3 separate regions of the Homo sapiens genome follow, and regions 1 and 2 are each linked to region 3. Evidence: promoter capture Hi-C in human tissues and cell types (Jung and others, 2019). All regions are on one chromosome and are shown on one strand. The core of a region is centred on a gene start or on the middle of the fragment in contact, and the rest is flanking DNA. Distances in the headings are between cores, read along the strand shown. Region 1 holds the start of SAA1 (serum amyloid A1). Region 2 overlaps GTF2H1 (general transcription factor IIH subunit 1). Region 3 holds the start of IGSF22 (immunoglobulin superfamily member 22).

What was found. The method cuts DNA at HindIII sites, captures the fragments that hold promoters and counts their contacts. A contact is called where the count stands out against the background at its distance.
Region 1: the fragment with the promoter of SAA1 here is called in contact with the fragment with the promoter of IGSF22 in region 3 in 1 of the 25 tissues and cell types used here (mesenchymal stem cells).
Region 2: a contact is called between a fragment that was not itself captured here and the fragment with the promoter of IGSF22 in region 3, in 1 of the 25 tissues and cell types used here (bladder).

What each region holds. Positions count from the first base shown.
Region 1 is chr11:18,263,616-18,267,803 of GRCh38, forward strand. SAA1 (serum amyloid A1) reads left to right here and starts at 2,649. Exons shown (of 4, transcript NM_199161.5): 1 at 2,649-2,681; 2 at 3,269-3,363. The coding sequence starts at 3,273. It also overlaps the pseudogene RNA5SP334. The HindIII fragment of the contact is 1,672 bases long and covers 1,071-2,742 here.
Region 2 is chr11:18,332,646-18,336,871 of GRCh38, forward strand. It overlaps GTF2H1 (general transcription factor IIH subunit 1), which reads left to right. Exons shown (of 15, transcript NM_005316.4): 2 at 415-583; 3 at 3,109-3,301. The coding sequence starts at 430. Among named protein-coding and RNA genes, the nearest start is that of GTF2H1, 12 kb to the left of the region's middle. The HindIII fragment of the contact is 6,284 bases long and covers 1-4,226 here.
Region 3 is chr11:18,723,709-18,727,810 of GRCh38, forward strand. It overlaps IGSF22 (immunoglobulin superfamily member 22), which reads right to left and starts at 2,480. Exons shown (of 23, transcript NM_173588.4): 1 at 2,366-2,480; 2 at 420-561. The coding sequence starts at 528. The region is part of intron 2 of IGSF22-AS1 (IGSF22 antisense RNA 1); the gene reads left to right. The HindIII fragment of the contact is 11,359 bases long and covers 1-4,102 here.

The sequences.
Region 1 (4,188 bases), core at 1,399-3,898, 460 kb before region 3:
CATTGACTCCTTCAATCAATAAAAGTGACTAAGAACCTGCTACAGGTGAGGTGCTGTGTTTGGTGTTAAAGTGACAACAGTTATCTGTCAATAAGCCTGACAAGGTTCCTATCCCTGTGTTTTGTGCACTCTGGGTCAAACTCAGAAATGCAAACAGGTGGAGAGCGATGAGTTCTATGACTGGTAAAGAAAAGGGCCTGCTGGTTTCCCTCAGGATCTCTGTCCTTCATCTCAAAATGCATCTTCCTTGTTATCGTTCCTCTCCTTCCTGTCTCAGAGGAAGACCTGCTCCTGCTACACTCTGGGCAACCTTGTCCCCGTGGCCCTGTGGCCCCTTGGTTGTTGAAGTCTATGTTATGCCCTATCTTTTACCCTCAGTCACTCTCTCTGTTAACATTCTCCCTGTGCCCTGTAACCCTCCCTCATCTTTAAATAAATCCTCCTCCTTTGACCTTCGCATGTATTCAGTCATGCAACTCAACAAGCATTTATTGCACAGTGATATTCAATTTGCCACTTGCTAAAAGTCTGAACCTTGGCAGCTGAATGTGATCAGAAAAAAAGCACGACTGCTATGACTAGTCTCACTTTAAATTCATGGTCGTTGACCAAGAGCTACCATACAATCCACTACCTTTCTCAAGTTCAGTCACATTCTTCCTTTCCTAGATGTCTGCTTTCTACTTCTCTTCTCTTCTGAAACTTCCCACAACTCCTCGTTCATTCTCTTCTCAGTTGACAACTTTGCTTCCTATTTCACTGAAAAATAGAAGCAATCAGATATGAACTTCTGGCTGGGCATGGTAGCTCATGCCTATAATCTCAGCACTTTGGGAGGCCAAGGCAGGAGGACTGCAGGTTAGGAATTTGAGACCAGCCTGGGCAACATGGTGAAACTCCCACTGTACTAAAAATTTTAAAAATTACTCAAACATATTGGCAAACAACTGCAGTCCCAGCTACTTGGGAGGTTGAGATGCAAGGATCACTTAAACCTGGGAGGCTGAGGCTGCAGTGAGCCATGATTGCACCACTGCACTCCAGCTCAGGCAACAGAGCAAGACCCTGTCTTGAGAGGAGAGGAGAAGAGAGGAGGGGAGGGGAGGGCAGGGGAGGGGAGGGGAGGGGAAGGGAGAGGGGAGGGGAGAGGGGAGGAGAGAGGGGAGGGGAGGGGAGGGGAGGGGAGGGGAGGAGAGGAGGATCAGGTGAGGAGTATGCCAAGGAGTGTTTTTAAGACTTACTGTTTTCTCTTTCCCAACAAGATTGTCATTTCCTTTAAAAAGTAGTTATCCTGAGGCCTATATTCATAGCATTCTGAAAGAAAGAAAAGAAAAGAGGAAAGAAAGAGAGAGGAAGGAAGGAAGGAGAAAGAGAGAGGAAGGAAGGAGAAAGAGAGAGGAAGGAAGGGAGGAAGAGAAGAAGGGAGGAAGAAAAGAAGGAAGGAAGGAGGGAGGGAGGGAAGGGAGGGAGGGAAAGAGGAAGAAAGGAGGGAAAGAAGGAAGGAAGAGAGAGAGGAAGGAAGGAGGAAGAGAGAAGAAGGAAGGAGGAAGACAGAGAGGGAGTAAGGAAGGAAGGAAGGAGAAAGAGAGAGGAAGGAAGAAATGAAGGAAGGAAGGAAAGAAAGAAAAAATAAAAGAGTGAAAACGGACTGGAGAAGAAGAAACCACAGTTGCTGCTATATCCACCAGCCTCTCTGCATGTCCTGGCCTCAGCCCTGCTGGGCTCTGGTACTGACCACTTCCTTCCTTCCTAATTTCCTAATTGACTAGGCCAGCTGAGCAGGGCTTTTCTGTGCTGAGGAGGTAAATCTCTGGATATCTAGACTGAGGGGTGGAAGGAGCCTTCCAGGGCACACATGAGACATGGCAGGGGTAGGCTGCTAGTTTTATTTTGTTTTCTTTTAGACACAGGGTCTTGCTCTGTTAACCAGGCTGGAGTGCAGTGGCGTGATTATAGCTCACTGCAGCCTTGACCTCCTGGGTCTCCCACAATCCTTCCGCTTCAGCCTCTTGAGTAGCTGGGACTGCAGGTGCACACTACCACACCCGGTCCATTTATTTTTATATTTCGTAGAGACAAGATCTTACAGTTTTGCACAGAGTGATCTTAAACTCTTGACCCCAAGTGATCCTCCTGCCTTGGCCTCCAAAAGCATTGGGATTATAGGAGTGAGCCACTGTGCTGGACCTAGTCTGTCAGCTTTGAAGCTTTAGATATGAACTCAGAGGGACTTCATTTCAGAGGCATCTGCCATGTGGCCCAGCAGAGCCCATCCTGAGGAAATGACTGGTAGAGTCAGGAGCTGGCTTCAAAGCTGCCCTCACTTCACACCTTCCAGCAGCCCAGGTGCCGCCATCACGGGGCTCCCACTCTCAACTCCGCAGCCTCAGCCCCCTCAATGCTGAGGAGCAGAGCTGGTCTCCTGCCCTGACAGCTGCCAGGCACATCTTGTTCCCTCAGGTTGCACAACTGGGATAAATGACCCGGGATGAAGAAACCACTGGCATCCAGGAACTTGTCTTAGACCGTTTTGTAGGGGAAATGACCTGCAGGGACTTTCCCCAGGGACCACATCCAGCTTTTCTTCGCTCCCAAGAAACCAGCAGGGAAGGCTCAGTATAAATAGCAGCCACCGCTCCCTGGCAGGCAGGGACCCGCAGCTCAGCTACAGCACAGATCAGGTGAGGAGCACACCAAGGAGTGATTTTTAAAACTTACTCTGTTTTCTCTTTCCCAACAAGATTATCATTTCCTTTAAAAAAAATAGTTATCCTGGGGCATACAGCCATACCATTCTGAAGGTGTCTTATCTCCTCTGATCTAGAGAGGTAAGCAGGGTCGGGCCTGGTAGTACTTGGATGGGAGAACACCTGGGAATACCAGGTGCTAAAGGCTTTAAGAATAAAAAATAATGATCCTGCTTTGTGTTTATCCCATGTTGAGTTCTGTGCGGGGCAGAGGGAACACACGGTAAATGCGTTATGGGGAATTATAGGCTACTTGAGGGAGTGACAGTCTGGTGGTAACTCCTGCCTTCCTCCATCAGTGCCACGTTGGCATCCTCTTATGCAGTCAGGCTTCAGGGCTGATGGGTTCAGAACCGAGGGCTTCTGGCTCTGAGTGAGGTCCTGCTGCAAGGTTTCCTAGATGAGCCACTGAGACTCTAATAAGATCCAGTGGAAATAACCAGGCTCTCGTCGGAATATAAGTCCCAAGGGAAGCTGTGCCAGTCTTGTGGGCGACTGCCTGACTTCTCCTTTCATTTCAGCACCATGAAGCTTCTCACGGGCCTGGTTTTCTGCTCCTTGGTCCTGGGTGTCAGCAGCCGAAGCTTCTTTTCGTTCCTTGGCGAGGCTTTTGATGGTAAGGCTTCAGAAGGTTTGCAGGATTTCTGAAGAGAAACATCACCCTGGACCTGATAAACTGGGGAAAATGATGCTTTCGGAAGGCTGCTTTTGAACCACAGAGTTGCTAGTGTCTGCGTTGCTGAGGCCTGCCAGGAACTAGGGTTTGCTGGGTTGCCTGTCTCGAGTCTTTCAGAGCTGCTGGGAATATCCCCTTTCCCCGTAGTGCAGCTTCTCAGGATGTGTTAAGTGGATGGATCACATTTCAGAAGCCGCTGCAAGGTGTATCAAAAACACATCTCCTGAGCCGTAAGGGACGGGGCATCCAGTAACAACGCACACGGGGTATTTTTGGGCTTCCTTAAGATTTGAGCCGCTGCCTTAGGTTGTGCTGCCCAATGTGCCTGGGGAGCTGCTAAACAGATTAGAGAGTCGAGGATTGTTGTCAGTTACTCAGAGAAAGAACAATCATCCTTTCCAGGAGCACCTGAGCTGTTTGTTTTGCGTAGAAGATGCAAAATAAGGCCTGCAATGGGTATAAAATGTCCCTCAGCATAAATCGCATAGGAGTATGACTAAGGCTGTTGACTCTTCTGTCTTCTTTCTCCTTCCTCCTTCGATTTCCTAGTTGGATAATGTACAGGGCTCTTTAGCCTCGCTCTGTCAGGGGCTCCCTTCCTGGTTTGTTCTGTTTCCATTCTTCCTTCTCCAGCCTTCTTGACAAGAGCTGGGAACTAACGTGCCTCAAGCCCCCACAAGGACCACAGCATTTTCTCATTTAGTTTCAGAATGACTCTGTGACGCAATCTTCCTCTCTTGGAAGGTGAGAAAGCTGATCTTGGAA
Region 2 (4,226 bases), core at 550-3,049, 390 kb before region 3:
CCCCACATATCTTGCAGACTTTAGTTTCAATTGAAACAAATTTGAACTAAATAATAAATATGACTGTAATTCTACAGTTTTACAATTGTAAATATAGACTATATGAAAGACTACACATTTTCAAATTGTGTGTGTATAAGAATATAACTGAGGAAAATAAATTAATAATACTCATTAGCATATAAGTATTGTATAAATTTACACCTGTGGTATGAGCAAAATGAAATTTAATTGTAGAGGAATGATGCCGTGCAACTTTATCTTCAACTTTGAATGAGAAAAGAGACTTTCTTCTTCCCCGTTAATTTCCTACAGTTTAGATTTTATATTTGAAAGGGACTCTAGAAGTCAACAAATTCAACCCTAATTGATGTGTGGAATAGTTTTTTTCTTCATCTTTTTTTTCTCTCTTAGCACCTTCTAGCCACCATGGCAACCTCATCTGAAGAAGTTTTGCTGATTGTAAAGAAAGTGCGTCAAAAGAAGCAGGATGGAGCTCTGTACCTCATGGCAGAAAGAATTGCTTGGGCACCTGAAGGCAAAGATAGATTTACAATCAGCCATATGTATGCAGATATTAAATGTAAGTCAGCTATACTAAGTTCTGATGTATTTGTATGTCATAGTTGCTAGTAATTTTGTAAAGAGATTATATAAATCTTTATTTTATATCAAAAAATCAACTATGTAGAAATAATTACAAAATGGGGTCACTGAATATATACTGTTTTATAACCTGACCTTTTCACTTAATAACAGAACAGGTACAGGTTTACATATAATATGTAAATCTACCTGACATATAGATCTCCACACACTTTAAGAGTTGCATAATACTCCACTAAATGAATATACAATCATGTATTTAACCAGCCCTCTGTGGTTGGACACTTAGGAAGTTTCCAGAATTTTTTTATTGCAGTGTTTGCACTAATATCATTTCAAGGTTGTATGTGTAGGATACATTTCTGCAAAGAATTTCCTGTTTAATAGTTGATGTGTTTTTTTGTGTTATTGTTGGTAGGGACAGAGTCTTGCTGTGTTGCCCAGGCCGGTCTCAAACTCCTGGCCTCAAGCAACACTCCTGCCTCATCCTCTCAAAGTTCTGGGATTATGTTATAGGCATGCACCACCATGCTTGGCCAGGTTTATGCATTTAAAATGCTGATAGATGATGCCAGATTTTCCTTCACTAAAATTGTACCAGTTAGGCAAGTTGTCTGATCTTTGCTTATGTGGCCATCTTCTGTTGAGAAGACTCAACCTTATAGTGAATGTAGGTGGTGGAATCTCTTTTTATAAATTTCAGGCATGGGCTAGGTGCAATGGCTCACACCTGTAATCCCAGAAGTTTGAGAGGCCAAGGCGAGTGGATCACCTGAGATCAGAAGTTTGAGACCAGCCTGCTCAACATGGTGGAACCCCATTTCTACTAAAAATACAAAAATTAAGGGCCGGGCGCGGTGGCTCACGCCTGTAATCCCAGCACTTTGGGAGGCCGAGGTGGGCGGATCACAAGGTCAGGAGATCGAGACCATCCTGGCTAACACAATGAAACCCCATCTCTACTAAACATACAAAAAAATTCTCTGGGCATGGTGGCGGGCGCCTGTAGTCCCAGCTCCTCGGGAGCCTGAGGCAGGAGAATGGCGTGAACTCAAGAGGCGGAGCTTGCAGTGAGCCAAGATCGCGCCACTGCACTCCAGTCTGGGTGCGAGACTCCTTCTCAAAAAAAGACATATATTTCTGAGAGAATGCCCTACAAATTTCTGTTACTAGCTAATAGCCTTAGCTACTAACATTTCTGTAACAATAGACTTATAAATTAGCAGTATTAGCGTCTCTCTCAAATGGGAAGCTAGCCCCATAGCTTTGTGTAATACACACGCACATTGTGATAACCACAGTGTACAATAAACAGTATGCCCATCTCCAATTTCTCTACAATTCTTCTCAGTTATTGGTGAAAGCAGTGCATACCCAAAACTAGATTTGCACCAGAACAGTTTCAAGTTGAATATTTGAAGGAATGCCCACATCTGAAAGAAGCAATTGAAATTGATTTAGTTCTTATCATAGCTGACAAAGTTACAGAAAATTTTAAAGAATGATACAGTGAAAACCTACGTAATATGCCCCACCTAGATATTAGTTATTATTTTGCCATATTTGCTTTATTATTTGTGTGTGCACTTTTATTGCTTGTAATACCATTATCACACTGAAAACATTTTAATAAAAAATAGCCATTGTTACATTTCCATTGGTTGTCTCAGTAATGTTTATAGTTGTGGTTTTTGGTTTATTTTTTTATTTTTTTATTTTAAAAAAAACGGTATCCAATCTAGGTTCCTGTAGTTGTCATTTCTTTAGTCCCTTTCAGGGTATAGCCTTGTCAAATATCAAACATTCTGAATATTTCTGATTGTCTCCTCAAGGTTTTAATTTATTCCTGTATACCTGTATTTTTTATAAGCTAAAAGTCAGATCTAAAGGCTTGAATATATTCAGCTTAAACATTTTGTGCAAGAGTAATAACATACATAGTGACATTCACTTCCTGTTCCATCACCTCAGAAAGCATATAGTGTCAGGTTGTCTCACTTTTAATGAGGCTAAGTTTGATAACTTTATTAAAGTGGTGACACCAGATTTCTCGAATATAAAATTACATATTTCCCTTGCAAAAAGAAATGCCATGGGCCGCATTTTGCAGTCTTTTGGATCATGATAGGTCATTTTTTATTAATGATAATGTTGATTTGGGGCAGTTTGTTTAAAATACATTCAGGAAGCTTTAAAGAGGTCTGCCCTGCCCTAGTTGAATGGTAACAAAAGCCCATTAATATCTGGAGGTAGTAGCAGTGGGTGAGAAGTGCTGCATGACAAGAGTACCAAAGAAGGAAGCAGAGTGTTAGTGAGTTTGATGAGCATGCTCTGGTTGTATGGGATCATTTAAGAAGAGTGCATTCTACAAAAGCATCAGTATTGGAATAGGGCAGTTAAAGCCCAAAGGAATCCTGAATCATCTTGGGAGAAGTAACTTACTGTATGGTTATTCCCACAGTGTGAGTGTCATCATCTAACTGCCCTCATGCTTCTTTTTAGGCCAGAAAATTAGTCCAGAAGGAAAAGCTAAAATTCAGCTTCAGCTGGTCCTACATGCAGGGGACACAACTAACTTCCATTTTTCCAATGAAAGCACAGCAGTGAAAGAGCGAGATGCAGTAAAAGACCTTCTTCAGCAGCTGCTGCCCAAATTCAAGAGGAAAGCAAATAAAGAACTGGAAGAGAAGAACAGGTGGGAGGAAAAGAATAGCCTTTTGAAAGAGATACTGGGTTCTCTATAGTCTCCTAGTATGCTAATAGCTTGTTAGCTATCCCCACGTTTTTTCGGTTTTGGTTTTGGTTTTTTGTTGTTGTCGTTTTTGTTTTTGTTTTGTTTGTTTGTTTGTTTTGGTGGTGGTGGTTTTTTGTTTGTTTGTTTTTGGATTTTTTTGAGACGGAGTTTCGCTCTGTCGCCTAGGCTGGAGTGCAGTGGCACAATCTTGGCTCGCTGCAACCTCCACCTCCCAGGTTCAAGCAATTCTCCTGTCTCAGCCTCCCGAGTAGCTGGGACTACAGGCATGTGCCACCATGCCCGGCTAATTTTTGTAATTTTAATAGAGACAGGGTTTCACCATGTTGGTCAGGCTGGTCTCGAACTTCCTGACCGCCAGTGATCCACCCACCTCAGCCTCCCAAAGTGCTGGGATTACAGGTATGAGCCACCACGCCCGGCCACCTATCCTCACTTTTGCTATGATACTGTAATGTAGGAAAATATGGGCTCTAGTGTCTTTACCTTGGTGTTTAGTTTTCAGCTTTAAAATCTTACTGCTTGTTTGACTTTGGGAAACGAGAATGTGCAAACCCAGAAGCTGAATTAACTGCATCATGCTTAACATCTGCTTAGGAGCAGAACCGGGATTGGAAGGTGCTGAAGTTCCTTAATTTCTTTTCCCAGTTCTCTGTCACAGAGAAGATGCTAAGCCATTGGAAGTATGCTTATGAACAAGAAACCTAAAATAATTCACACTGAAAAAGTGAGACAGTATGTAAAATAATGAGAATTTTTTTTTTTTTTTGAGACAGAATCTTGCTCTGTTGCCCAGGCTGGAGTGCAGTGGCGTGATCTCAGCTCACTGCAACCTCCACCTCCTGGGTTCAAGCAGTTCTCCTGCCTC
Region 3 (4,102 bases), core at 1,230-3,729:
ACTGGTAGCCCCAAGTCTCCTATTTCTTAAGTGGAGCAGGGTCAGCATTACTGATATGTAGATAAGGTGGCTACCTTCCTAATTTCCCCTATGCCTGAAATTCTACCTTTGGAGATAGAATCTGTTCACCTATGGCTCTGATCTCCTTCAGCAATTAAGAGTTTATCAATCATTCACACACATCCACATGATTGATCTTTTCTAAGCTGTTTTCCTGGAGATCTGATCTGTGTTGAACATCCAGCTGGCTGAAGCTTTAACAAAGCCAAGATTAGAAGCACACGTTGGGTGGGGGTTGCTGTTGGTATTGTGGGCTCCAGAGGGGCCCATTAGTGGCAAAACTGGGGCCACCCAAGGGATGGGTGTGGAGGAAGAATAGCTGCCCTTCCCGATCCCTTCCCTGCCCCCATTCCACTTGCCTCCCACGATCTTGGTTGTCTGGGAGAAGGTCTGCACGTGGGTGGTGGAGCTGGAGAACTCCATGGACACGTGCTCCTGCAGCATCTGCCGGCTGTGAATGGTTGTCATGGTGACAGCAGGCGTGGGCACTCACCTGTGAGACTGGGGAAGAGGATGAGGCCATGAAGGACAAGACAGGGAGTAGGAGGGAGATTCAGAGATGTTATGTGTGTGTTCAGACATAAGAGGAGATGGAAGCACACAGGAGAGGGCCAGGAGAGCAGTCGAGCTCTCTTTTCTTCATTTCCTAGCTTCCTTTTCCTGGTTAGTTACCAGACCCAATAGGCCTGTCCTCTCACTGAGTAACTCCAAACTATTCCAGGGTCTCAGAGGGAGAGGTTATAGGGCTTAGACTTACCCAGCCAACCAAGTAAGGCCTGGAGGGAGTTGAGGATACCTATTGATAGCTACATGGCACTAAGGAGGCAGTGCTGGATGTTTCATCAGGAGGGAATGCAGTCAGACCTAAGAAAGAACTTCCTGACTAAGCCATACTGGAGTGGGCTTTAGAAGGAAGCTGTGTCTCTTATTCCTGGGCCCTGGGGACCCCGGCACTGGTGGAATGCTAAAACAGATGACAAAACATCACTACAATTCTGCTTGTGTTTGCGACATGGTAAAGGCAAAGGTTTAGTTTTTCTTACATTTTTCTTTGAACTGGTAATTCAATCACATAGTTAAAGAATAAAACAATATAAAAATCCATATGGACAGGCTCCCTCCCACTCCTGCGTCTATCTTACAACCTTCCCCATTGCAACAGGTAGCCAGTCTCTAGGCTCCTTCTAGACCTCCATCATGCAAATAGGAAAACTCATGTGTTCTTATCATCTTCCTTTTTTTTTTTTAATTAAAAAAGCACATAAGGTAGCCCATTATACACACTATTCTGACCCTTTCTTTTTTCATTTAATGTGTCTTGGAGATTTTTTCCATACCAGATGATAGCGTTTCCTCATTCCTGTTCAGAGCACCATGTTTTCTCAATGTTTTATTTAACCAGCATTGCGGTTTTTTTTGGGTGATCTCGGCTCATTGCAACCTCCTCCTCTCGAATTCAAGCCATTCTCCTGCCTCAGCCTCCCCAGCAGCTGGGTTTACAGGCACGTGCCACCATGCCCAGCTAATTTTTGTGTTTTCAGTAGAGACAGGGTTTCATCTTGTTGGCCAGGCTGGTCTCAAACTCCTAGCCTCGATTGATCCGCCTGCCTTGGCCTCCCAAAGTGCTGGGATTATAGGTGTGAGCCACTGCATGTGGCCAGCATTGCAGTTTTTTTGTTTTTGTTTTTTTGAGACAGAGTCTTGCTCTGTTGCCCAGGCTGGAGTGCAGTGGCACGATCTTGGCCCACGACAACCTCTGCCTCCCAGGTTCAAGCAATTCTCCTGCCTCAGGCTCCCGAGTAGCTGGGACTACAGGCACCCGCCATCACACCCGGCTAATTTTTTGTATTTTTAGTACAGATGGCGTTTCACTATGTTGGCCAGGCTAGTCTCGAATACCTGACCTCGTGATCCGCCCACCTCAGCCTCCCAAAGTGCTAGGATTACAGGCGTGAGCCACCGCGCCTGGCCCAGCATTGCAGTTTTTAAAGTCCTATTTCGTATATGAGGAAACTGATGTCTGAAAGAAATGACCTGTCCAAGGTCACTCAGACTAGACTCCTAGCTTTTGACTCCAGTCCAGTGGCGTCCCAGAGGGCTCCAAAGCCTTCTTTAACCCAGGTAGTTAGGGGTTAAACTCTATTCCCTCTCTCCACCCCCTAATATATCTCTGCCTGGGCTGCTTCTACCTTTGGGTTCTGAGACTACTCCCCTGTTCCTATTCCTGCCCTCTACCCTATAGTCCCCTCTGGGCTCAGAAGGTGGTCAGCTTTGTCCCCTTCCTGAGGGAGGAGGGGAGCCTTACCTTCAGCACTGACCAGTCCCTCCCAACACTCGAATGCTGTGTCCACGGCTTTGGAGGCTCAGCTAGTGCCTGGACTGTAGGGTGGCCCGTCTCCTTCTTCCTTTGCCCCAACAGTGAGGCTACCAGTGTCATCTGTTCCTTAAATGTCTGGCCCCCTGGGGGCGATTCCTTAGTCAGGCTCTGCAGCTGTCTCAGCTAGATGGCACACTGCTTGGTTGTGGGGGGAGGGGGAGGGCGGTGGAGAAGGGAGGCGGGAAGCAAAGCTGGATCCAGGCTGGGGGAAACACTGAAGGCCAGGCGGGAAGGAGGCTGAGGGTGGCAGTCCAGGGGTACTTTTTTTGTTCCCTTGTGGTACAGGTTTTGGCTCTCACTGCTGCTGGGTAGGACCTCTCTGAGCTGAGGGGCTCAGGGTAGTGTGTGTGCACAGGCACACACTCAGGTACAGGTGCATGCATAGTCCAGCAGGGCTCAGGGAGCAAAGCAACAGGTCTGTATTTTCCAGGGACTGGGACACGGTGAACTGGGGAGGGCCTCTGGGATCTGCTGCGTTGCTACACAAATCCAGGGGTTCCCATTCATGTTGCACTCCTATGTGTGGTTCATACACAGCCTGAGTATCTTTACAAGGCCACCCTGGGGAAGAACAGGGAAATGTTAGGTCTCCTTCCTCTTCCCACTTCAACAGCCCAATCTCCCTAATCTGGGTAGAAGAGTAGGAGGGCCCATCCTCCGGGGGTTGTGGGGAGGTCTCTGCTTGAGGGTGACTGGAGAGTATGGCCACCTCTTCTCAAGGACTTCCATCTGGGCTGCTTCAGCCACCTGTTGTTTTCTTTTCTTTTCTTTTTTTTGAGATGGAGTCTCTGTCACCCAGACTGGATGCAGTGGCACGATCTTGGCTCACTGCAACCTCTGCCTCCCAGGTTCAAGCGATTCTCCTGCCTCAGCCTCCTGAGTATCTGGGATTACAGGCGTGCACCGCTACGCCCGGCTAATTTTTGTATTTTTAGTAGAGATGGGGTTTCACCATGTTGGTCAGGCTGGTCTCGAACTCCTGACCTCATGATCTGCCACCCCTCGGCCTCCCAATGTGCTGGGATTACAGGCGTGAGCCACCGTGTCCAGCCCACCCTGTTGTTTTCTCATCATCTGTAGCACACCCCGCATGCCTGGACCCTGGATCCCACCCAAGGTTCTGGCACCTTGTAAGGACTTGTTGGTCAGCACCCTTGCCCTGGACCCCTCCTTCTGCCCTGGGGTGACCCCCACCTGCCAGCAGTGGCATCATGGCTACTTTTGCTCCATCCCAGGGGGGCAGGGGACAAGAATAGAGCAGGAGTGTCCAGGATGGCTCAGGATCTCAGCCCACATGCAGATTCCCTGGGCCCCTTGGGAGGAGCTACTCTGAGCCCAGGCCTTACAAGGGAAATTACTGGGCTGCAGCTGCTGTTGGGATCTGTGGAGCTAACATGGGATAAGAGTTTGGCCAACAGGGAGGGGCCTGGGTGTGACCTGAATGTCTCCTTACCCTAGCCTTGGCTTCTCTGGCACATCTGTTGGAAATGGTGACCTGCCAGCCACTGTGCCTTCCCTGGAAGCCTTCCACACCTGTCCTTGAGGCTCCCCATGGCCCAGAGCATGTGTCAGGGCCAGGGCTGAGGCTGTGTGAGAATCCTGCAGAATGTTCCCAGTTTGGCTTTACAAATTTGGACTCGCTCCATACTCCCAGTCTCCACAAGG